Regions from separate parts of the Homo sapiens genome. Here all the other regions are linked to region 1. The links are contacts of gene promoters, found by promoter capture Hi-C in blood cells and fetal thymus (Javierre and others, 2016). All regions are on one chromosome and are shown on one strand. Each heading gives the region's core, a stretch centred on a gene start or on the middle of the fragment in contact. The rest is flanking DNA. Distances are from core to core; before and after follow the strand shown. Region 1 holds the start of KRT38 (keratin 38). Region 2 has its middle 15 kb from the start of KRT25. Region 3 has its middle 18 kb from the start of KRT12.

The links. The method cuts DNA at HindIII sites, captures the fragments that hold promoters and counts their contacts. A CHiCAGO score of 5 or more calls a contact.
Region 2: a fragment that was not itself captured here is called in contact with the fragment with the promoter of KRT38 in region 1 in 1 of 17 cell types (endothelial precursors); the score reaches 5.3 in endothelial precursors.
Region 3: a contact is called between a fragment that was not itself captured here and the fragment with the promoter of KRT38 in region 1, in 2 of 17 cell types (erythroblasts and M0 macrophages). The highest score is 8.1, in erythroblasts.

Annotation. Positions count from the first base shown.
Region 1 is chr17:41,439,390-41,442,423 of GRCh38, reverse strand. It overlaps KRT38 (keratin 38), which reads left to right and starts at 1,441. Exons shown (of 7, transcript NM_006771.4): 1 at 1,441-1,994; 2 at 2,181-2,263. The coding sequence starts at 1,503. RefSeq lists an enhancer at 1,285-1,785. The HindIII fragment of the contact is 7,679 bases long and covers 1,218-3,034 here.
Region 2 is chr17:40,738,621-40,741,654 of GRCh38, reverse strand. No RefSeq gene overlaps it. Among named protein-coding and RNA genes, the nearest start is that of KRT25, 15 kb to the left of the region's middle. The HindIII fragment of the contact is 1,719 bases long and covers 614-2,332 here.
Region 3 is chr17:40,847,744-40,850,777 of GRCh38, reverse strand. No RefSeq gene overlaps it. Among named protein-coding and RNA genes, the nearest start is that of KRT12, 18 kb to the left of the region's middle. The HindIII fragment of the contact is 1,881 bases long and covers 495-2,375 here.

The DNA.
Region 1 (3,034 bases), core at 192-2,691:
AGAAAAGTTTTGGGATCTCAGCAGCCATGTGTCTTGGATCCCTAGTACCAAGAACTATCTGAATGTGGAATGTGTAATATAACCATTTTAGGGACAGGACTTTCCCCTGGCATCTTCTGATTTAGCCCTTGGAGAAACTCTGTTTTATTGTATGAATACCTCCACATCTGTATTTTCTGAGATACAAAGGGAAAAATACACAATGTCAGATTTTTGTTTTACATCTTAATTTCAACTTCTTGCCCGGTTTCTAGGAATTTGAATCCTTCTTAGTTCTAGCAATGACACAGTAGTTATCCTTGGGGTGGAGGATTTGGAGGTGGTCAAGGTGAAGAAACAGTTTCTGGAGTTGAAAGAAGCTGATGTTGAGAATAGGCTTTATACTTTATAGTGAGGTTGATCTTAGAAAACTGTCCTCAATGGCTTGTTTATTTATTTTGTAAAATTAAGAGTACCCACCTCCCAGGTTGGAAGTAAAGATTAAAAGGTATCATTGCTCAATCCCCTAGCTCATAGGGTGAAGGCTCATGACTGACTTTAGAATAAAGGAAGCAAGGTATGAAGAGAGCCCACAGAGGCTCTGATCACTCAATGTCCTTTGACTTTCATGACCAAGTTCTTATTTGAGGTTCAGTAAGATTATTGCTCATTTCTCTTTGTTTATTTCTGGCTTCTTGAGCTTGCCCTTCTTGGTCGAGATAAGCCATGGTTTTTGGAGTCATCCTCATTTTCATGAGCTTCTCAGATACCTTGTTTGAAACATCACGTCTACCCAAGTTACAGTTGTTCCCCAATGGCAGGAACTATTTTGTGCTTAACCAACTATATATCAAGCATCAGCAAGGTGCGTAGCATATGGGACGTAGCCAGGGGATGTGTTTTGAGTGACTGGATTCATCTAAGTCTTGTTGCTCCTCAAAGTGAGTCTGAAAGGCAACCAACTAAAGAAAGAAGAAATGTAGGACTTCTTGATAACCCAAGGCCATAACATCCACCAATTCCAAGACTCAGTTTCTTCCCTGGATAGGGAAGGCTGGTTGAGTCTTAACCCAAGTGAGAACCATTGTCATCACCGGGGTTAGTCCTCCTGCTACACCACTGACCAACAGGAAAGTTTGTGTCTCCAGAGTGGACACATCCATAAAGAGGCCAAACCCAGTCAAGGTCTAAGCATCTGATGGCTATAACTTTGCTTCTTTGAAAGATAATAAAAAGCTTCTGACCTCCCATCAACAGCCAACCTGATTTCAAAGAGCCAAGAGGCCTCAGATTCGTCAACATTCCTTTAACGAGCTGAGAAACTTTTCATGGTAAACTCAGCAGCTGAGTAACAGGATGATGGCACCACAACAGGTAGATAATCAAGGCAGGAGGTCAAAGCATTGGAGCCAACACCCGCCCAGGATGGGGTATAAAAGGGCTGGGAGGAGAGGAGGCTTCAGTCTCAGTGGTTCAGCTTTCCCAGCTGATCTGAAGCTCCTGTGCAGCCTCAGCCCAACACCATGACCTCTTCCTACAGCAGCTCCTCATGCCCTCTGGGTTGCACCATGGCTCCTGGAGCAAGAAATGTCTCTGTCTCTCCCATCGACATTGGGTGCCAGCCTGGGGCAGAGGCCAACATTGCCCCCATGTGCCTTTTGGCCAACGTGGCACATGCCAACCGAGTCCGTGTGGGGTCCACTCCCCTGGGCCGCCCCAGCCTCTGTCTGCCGCCTACCTGCCACACTGCTTGTCCCTTGCCAGGGACCTGCCACATTCCTGGCAACATTGGAATCTGTGGGGCCTATGGTGAAAACACCCTGAATGGCCATGAGAAGGAGACCATGCAGTTCCTGAATGACCGCCTGGCCAACTACCTGGAGAAGGTGCGCCAGCTGGAGCAGGAGAATGCGGAGCTGGAGGCCACACTCCTCGAGAGGAGCAAGTGCCACGAGTCCACCGTGTGCCCCGACTACCAGTCTTACTTCCACACCATCGAGGAGCTCCAACAGAAGGTGAGGTGTGGGATCGCTTGGGTGTGCTGGGTCTGAGATGGCAGAGGCAAGACAGGAGGAATCCATGTAAAGCTCAGAGAACTTTGGGTTCTTGGTTTCTCTTGGACATGATCATAGACACCACACGTGGAGAAGGAGCCTAGGGCATGATGCTTTGTGTGTGAACTGTCTTCCTGTTCTCCTCAGATCCTGTGCAGCAAGGCCGAGAATGCCAGGCTGATTGTACAAATTGACAATGCCAAGCTGGCTGCCGATGACTTTAGGATCAAGTAAGTCAGGCGGAGGAGGGCCAGGGTGACTCCTTCCCCACCCTCCATCCCAATGCCCAAATACTTGTTGAGTGAGGGAATCATTGTCATTTCTTCCTTGCTAGATTCTCTACAGTAAAATTTTCATTACAATCGAAGCTGATGGAAGATGGAAGGGAAAACTCCTCATTAATCCAAGCATATATGTTTGTCTTCCTTCATTTATTTCCCTAAAATGGAGGATAAGGCAGCCTGAGTTCATTAACCAGGAGCAAAATGAGGTGATTTGAAGGATGAACTGAGCAAGACAGCCATTGGGTTTCATATATAAGTCAGAGGAGTCACTTACAGATGAGTCTTTGTCCAGATTTAATTAGGGAGCCCTAAGGTACCAGGTATAAGGTACCTAGGCAAAAATGAGAGAGGGGAAGACAGCTGAAAGCAAGGGATAAGGAGCCGCAGATCACGATCAGGCACCTGGTTATTGCTTATCTTTGGTAACTGACAGCCCCTGCAATGGCATGAGCGTTGGACTGGGTCCCAAGATGCATGATCTTACGCAAGTCAGTTGATCTTCCTGAACTGCAGTTGCCACAGAATACAATGGCAAAAATGTATATTGTGCAATGTAGTGTTGTGATTTCTCCATTAGACCATGAGCTCTTTGAGAAGAGGGGCTGGGTCTAATTCACCTTTGAGGACAGAGGGCTAAACAGAGTGAATAAATGAGGATCCAAGGTGGTGTGGGAGGTAGGAAGCCAGGGCAGCCGAGAGGGGCTCTTGGGGGCATTC
Region 2 (3,034 bases), core at 224-2,723, 700 kb after region 1:
ATGATGAGTTACAGAATCATAAAGCCAAATGAAGGAAGCAAGTCCCAGCAGAGTGCATAAGGCGGATTCCATTGTATAAAGTTCCAAATAGAAAAACTAAACAAGATATTGTTTAGAGGTGCATATGTAGATAGCAAAACCTTTTTTAAAGGCAGGTGAAAGGTTTTCTTCCCTTCTGACACCAACTCAGTGTCCTACAATTCAATTCAATTCTAACACTAACACCCTGGAGTTAGTGTCAGACTCCACGTGTCTAAAGGCTCAGTCCCACAAGACTGTCCTCACATCAGATACCAGCCACAAGTATCAGGCCCGCAGGTTACCCACACTTCTGTCTGACATGGCTACAAATTCAGGGTTCTCACAACCTCCCCCTCCGCAAAGTTCAATAATTCTCTAGAATGACTCACAGAACTCAGGTAAGTGCTTTACTTATTATTGTGGGTTTACTATAAAGGATACAACTCAGCAACAGCTGAATACAAGAGATGCCCGGGGCAAGGTCAGGGGCGAGGAACACGGAGCTTCCATGCCCTGTCCGGGTGGGCCACCTCCCAGCACCTTGATGTGTTCACCAATCCAGAAACTCTCTGAACCCCCTCATTTAGAAGCTTTTATTGAGGTTTCATCATGTAAGCATGATCGATTATTAACTCAGTCTCCAGCCTCTGTCCCCTCTCTGGAGGGTGGGGAAGGGTTAGGGCTGAAATGTCTAGGCTTCTCATCAAGGTTTGGTCTTTCTGGCAGCCAGCCCCCATCCTAAAGCTACTTAGCGGCCCACCAAGAGTCACCTCATTAGAACCAAAGATGCTCCTATCACACAAGAAATTTCAAAGGATTTAGGAGCTCTGGGTCAGGACAAGAAAAGATGCTTCTATCACTGAGGAAATTACAAGGATTTTAGAAGCTGTGTGCCAGGAAATAGAGACAAAGGCCAACTATATATTTCTTATTATTTCACAGCAAGTAATAAAGAAAACTCAGGATAGTGATGACACCTGAGCAGTAATAGGGGAGATATCACTGGGGAGAAACAGCAGGGTCTCTAAGATACAGGTATGTTTTACTATTATTTATTATTTAAACTACACAATTTCTAAATTTTTTGTATGCAGGAAATTATACAATGAAAAATTTTTAAGCAGATGACAAAAATAATACCAATATTTTAAGTAAAGAAAGTGACTAATGACTAGAAAATAACGATGCTATTGAGAGATGCAGCAAACTGAAAAGGGATTCAGTGGAATGGAAAGGTGGCGAGTTTAGCTTAGAACACAAGCACGAAGGTGAGAACAATCAATCAATTTTCTAAGAGAAAGAATTGGAGCAGGAGGGGAGGTTTTGGATTGCATAGGAGAGAGGTAACCACTGATACCTTGAAAGTCGATCAGAAAGAAGAACTCTGCAGACAATGAAGACCCGAGGTCAGGAACACATTGAGCAGTGGATGAGGATGCAGATAGACATGAATTAGAAAATAGGGTTAGGACGGAAGCGGTGGCTTACACCTGTAATCCCAGCACTTTGAGAGGCTGAGGGAGGAGGATGGCTTGAAGTAAGGAGTTCTAGACAAGCCTGGGTCACATAGCAAGACCTCATCTCTACTTTAAAAAAAAAAAAAAAATTAGCCGGGCATTGTGTGGAGTGCCTGTAGTCCCAGCTACTCGGGAGGGTGGGGTGGGAGGGCCACTTGAGCCCCAGAGATGGAGGCTGCAGTGAGATATGATCACACCACTGCACTCCAGCTTGGGCAGTAGAGCAAGACCCTGTCTCAAAACAAAAAAAAAAGGGTCGGAGGAACCCAGGAGGGAGGAGAGTTAAGGTAAGTCAGGAGACTTTGTTTGCATTGTTTGTCTTGAGTTCCCAGAGCAAACAATGCAGCCCCAACAAATGTGTGCATAAAAGACATTCCCCGCCAAATAGAAAACACTTTGTTGGTTTTATGCCCCTTGGGTTCTGTGCCACTGTTCCCATCCATTTAATAACAATAATCAAGAATGTTCTCAAAAATAAGACTCTTATTCAGTAATAGAACTACTTCATTTGGAAAGTGATTTTTGAAATAGAATAATTACTATGTTGCAGAAAGAAAACAACTTTCTGGAGATGTTTCCAGAGCTTCCACTAACACAGTGTAGCCAGTGTGTCTTCATGGCTCCCTAGCAAAGCTGTTTCTCTTCCATCTGCCACTGTGGCTTCTGTCATTGCTAATTCTTGGTTCATAGCAATTATGAGATTTTCAGGTATTTACATTAATGTCTTACTAGATAAAGTCTTACTTCATAGGGAAACCAAATCTTATAATATTGCATCTGTCCTTACTTAAGCTTAAAGTTATATCCGCATAGACCTGCACAGGTAATAAAACTGCCCAAATGGTGGATGTATATTCAGTTAGGGATAATCTAAGAGAAGGTGGAAGATAGCATTGAAATTGATATTTCATAGTCACCACCTTTATTCTGCAAACATTTCTGATTTGTTCTTTTAAAACACCTATCACTCTGCCCCTTGGAGAATGCTTACAAATATTAACTAAAAACTGTGTATTCATAGTTTTTGTGTGAAATAATTCCAACTCGGTTCCATTTCTCCTTTAATCTTTGTAGAAAAATGTGGATACATCAGTTTGAGCAAAGGATGACTGATGTCTGTTATCCATTAGTTTGGTCAACAGATATCAATACAGTGCCCACTTCAATCCTATGGGAGTGTGAATCTAGGGGAATCCAGACAAACTGGCCCCTGCTTTCATGGAGCTTGTGTATTAAGATGATACCTGGGATTTAATTTACAGGCACAACTGAGTGACAATACAGAGGGGACAGTGCCACTAAAGATTTGTATTACTTACGTTTCCCAGAGAAGGAAGCATGTCATTCTGTGCAAGACCACGTGGGGAGCACCGATGTGGGCCAGGAGGCAGAAAGGAATGAGGAGAAAGAGCCTAGACCAGAGCCTTTATTGGGGTTTCCACGGGAGAGCCAAGGCAGGGTAGGGTAGGCAGCTTAAGACAGACTGGTTTGAATTA
Region 3 (3,034 bases), core at 186-2,685, 590 kb after region 1:
TGTTTTGGTTACTCTATTTAAAATATGCTTGCGTCATATGAAATTGAATTCCACTTACTTCCTTCTCCTTAAATCTTAATAAAGGAATTAGGCTGGCTGTTTGAGACTAAAAAATCCATCAAGAAGTTGTTTGCATTTTACTGAGATATTTGTTGAATTCAATATTTCCAGAAAACCCTCAAGATACTTGTCACTCTATAGGGACACAAAATTTTCTTATCTAATATGTACAATCTTTAACTTGACAATTTCACAAGGCATATTGATATAAATCATATTGCTCAATATCTGGTGACTCAGTAGAAAGTGATCTTCAGTTTCAACAAGCAGTCTTTTAATTCATGACGCTTTTTCTTAAGGAAATTAACCTGAGGACTTTTTCCCATACATCTAAAGAGTACTAGAAGTTGCTTTCAAAACATAGAGTAACTTGGTTTCCATGTAGTATTTATAAGAAAAAAAAATCTGTAGATATTCACTTATAAAGGCAAGCTTGGAATCCTCTAATTCGTCATTAAAGTGTGCTTTGTATGTAGGCAATCGCCTAACCATAGATACAAAACTGAGTTATCTTAAAATGGCTGATGGAACACTGGCTTTCCATGAAAATATTCAGTCTGAAAATGTAATACTCCTGCCAATCTAGATCAAAATAGAACTTGTTCTCCCTTAATAACGAGGTGTTCTATCTAAAAAACATTGTGCTCTCTCTCTTTGGTGGTCTAGCAGTTAGGAATAAAAATTAAAAATAAGTAAAATACACTTTTCTCTCAATCAAACTAATATTTACTGGTCACTATGGAAGCAAATGGGAGCGGACTAGTCAGGTATGCAAATAACCTTGCCTCGCCAGGTATAAAGTGACCTGCCACAGAAGTTTGGAAAAGGGAGGTAATATAAAGGGCTGGGATATGAGGACCACTCTTTACAGCAGAAAGGCATCTGAGCAGAGCCTTGAGGAGTACATAAAATTTCAACATATGGTATTAAATGGGAGTGGATTGGCAAGAATAGGACCAAAGAGCGTGTCCTCTGGAGTGTTTTCCCATAAAACTAAGTAATCATCACACCAGCTGAGAACCATAAGTTCCTTGACCCAGGTAGTCTGCACTTCCTTTTTAGAAGACGAATTTTTGTATCTTATTCCTCCTCAAAGGCTGGGCCAGGTATTATTGGCCATCCAGAAATAAGTCCCCAGTACTTAATGCAGCATCTGGCAGAAAATGTGGGCATGCCAAATACATGTAGGTTGAAATGATGTTTAGAAATATCACATTAGGTTTATACATTCATAACACATGATTGAAAAATTCCGGTAAACGGATTAGCTAAAATCCAATGAAAATTATTAATTAAGCCTTTCATTTGGCACAATTAAAAATAAAACCCTATGTTGATTGAATTTTTCATTTTGGATCCAATTATGCTGTCACATAGGTATAGCTGGAGTATATGAGTCACCCAAAATTCTATTAATCAAATCTAGAAATAATAATATAATAATGTGTGTTAATCATTCTAATACAGCAAATGAGACACAGAAAAACAAAACCAACAATATTGTAAATTACCCAATGATCAATCTTTGTTGGAAACAATGTCCTACTCAGCAGTGGGACAAGAGCAATACCTAAGAGTTGAACAACCCAGAAGAAAAAATATGAATCGTCAGGGAAAGTCTGCTTAGAGGGAAATAAGAATCCAAGGTGTATTGCTAGATTTTGCAATAACTAGATGTGGCAATACAGAAATGTGATTTTAATTGGAGGAGGAAGATAATTATAGCTTGCAAGCCAACTAGTTAATCTAAGTGACAAACTTTGGCCCCACACCCAAGAAAAGAGGGTGAACCCAAAATAGGAGTTTATCAAGTTTCCATTACAAATGTGTTCAAGACACCTGAGCCACCCTGAAACCAAACCCTGAAACCAAGGAGTGGTGAGGGGGGGGGGGGGGTTATAGGTTACTAATAATTAATTATTAAATTTAAATAGTTTCTATAAATTTACATATGAAAACAATAAATTCTGTGTTATATCTTTGGAAGTAGCATTATGCTGGTGATCAAGTGCAATGGGATAAAACACAGTTAGCAGGCATTCCTTAAAAAATATTCCCTAAGCTAATACTAGAAACAGAAAAAGAGAGGTCAGATTAATCCTACAGATTTAGAAGTGATCCAAGTTAAGGCAACCTACATGATAATGGAATTGAAAACCACGTCATCTAAGGAACAGTTGAATGAACTGGTGATCCATAACCTGGAAAATAAAAGACTTAGAAACACAGAGTAATCTTGTCAAATACCCAAAAGATTCTCCATCAGCAAAGCTATATTCTGTGTGGCAGATTTCAGTTAAATAGAAAGATAAGCTTTTTAATAATTAGAGCACTTCAAAGGAAGGTGAAGTGCTTCATGAGACAATGAGTTTCTCATCACTAGAAATATTTTAGTAGAGATTGGAGATATCTGATAAGGGGTTCCGTTTAGTGTTGAATATTTAACAAGAGAAGAAAGAAAGGACAGATGTCTATGAGTACCCACTGTGTAGAACACTTTGTAGAAGAACACTTTGTATGTGTTATCTAAATTGGTATTCTCAGATTTATGAATTGGATATTATTTCTCACGTGAAGATTAAAAGAGATTAAGCAATTTACCATACACCCTGTAACAGGCAATGCTGGAAGGTGAAGCCTGGCAATGACCTCTAATATCCTTTGCAAATTCTGTTCTGGTTGAAGCTATAACAGTGAATGTATTATTGGTCTAGATAATTCTATCCTGATAATTTGTCTATTTATCCAGTCTGGTATTATTTCTGTCAGAATATCCACAGACTTTTGGCCAAAGAGCATATTTAGCTTCCCCCATGACATTAAATTCAAAAGATAAATCATACTTTAGGTTCTTTCCAGCTGAATTCTGTAATTTTGATGACCAGAATTCCTAGCAACTCATTTACACTAGAAAGGGCAGAGTTTTGGGGCCGGGTACGGTGGCTCACGCCTGTAATCCCAGCACTTTGGGAGG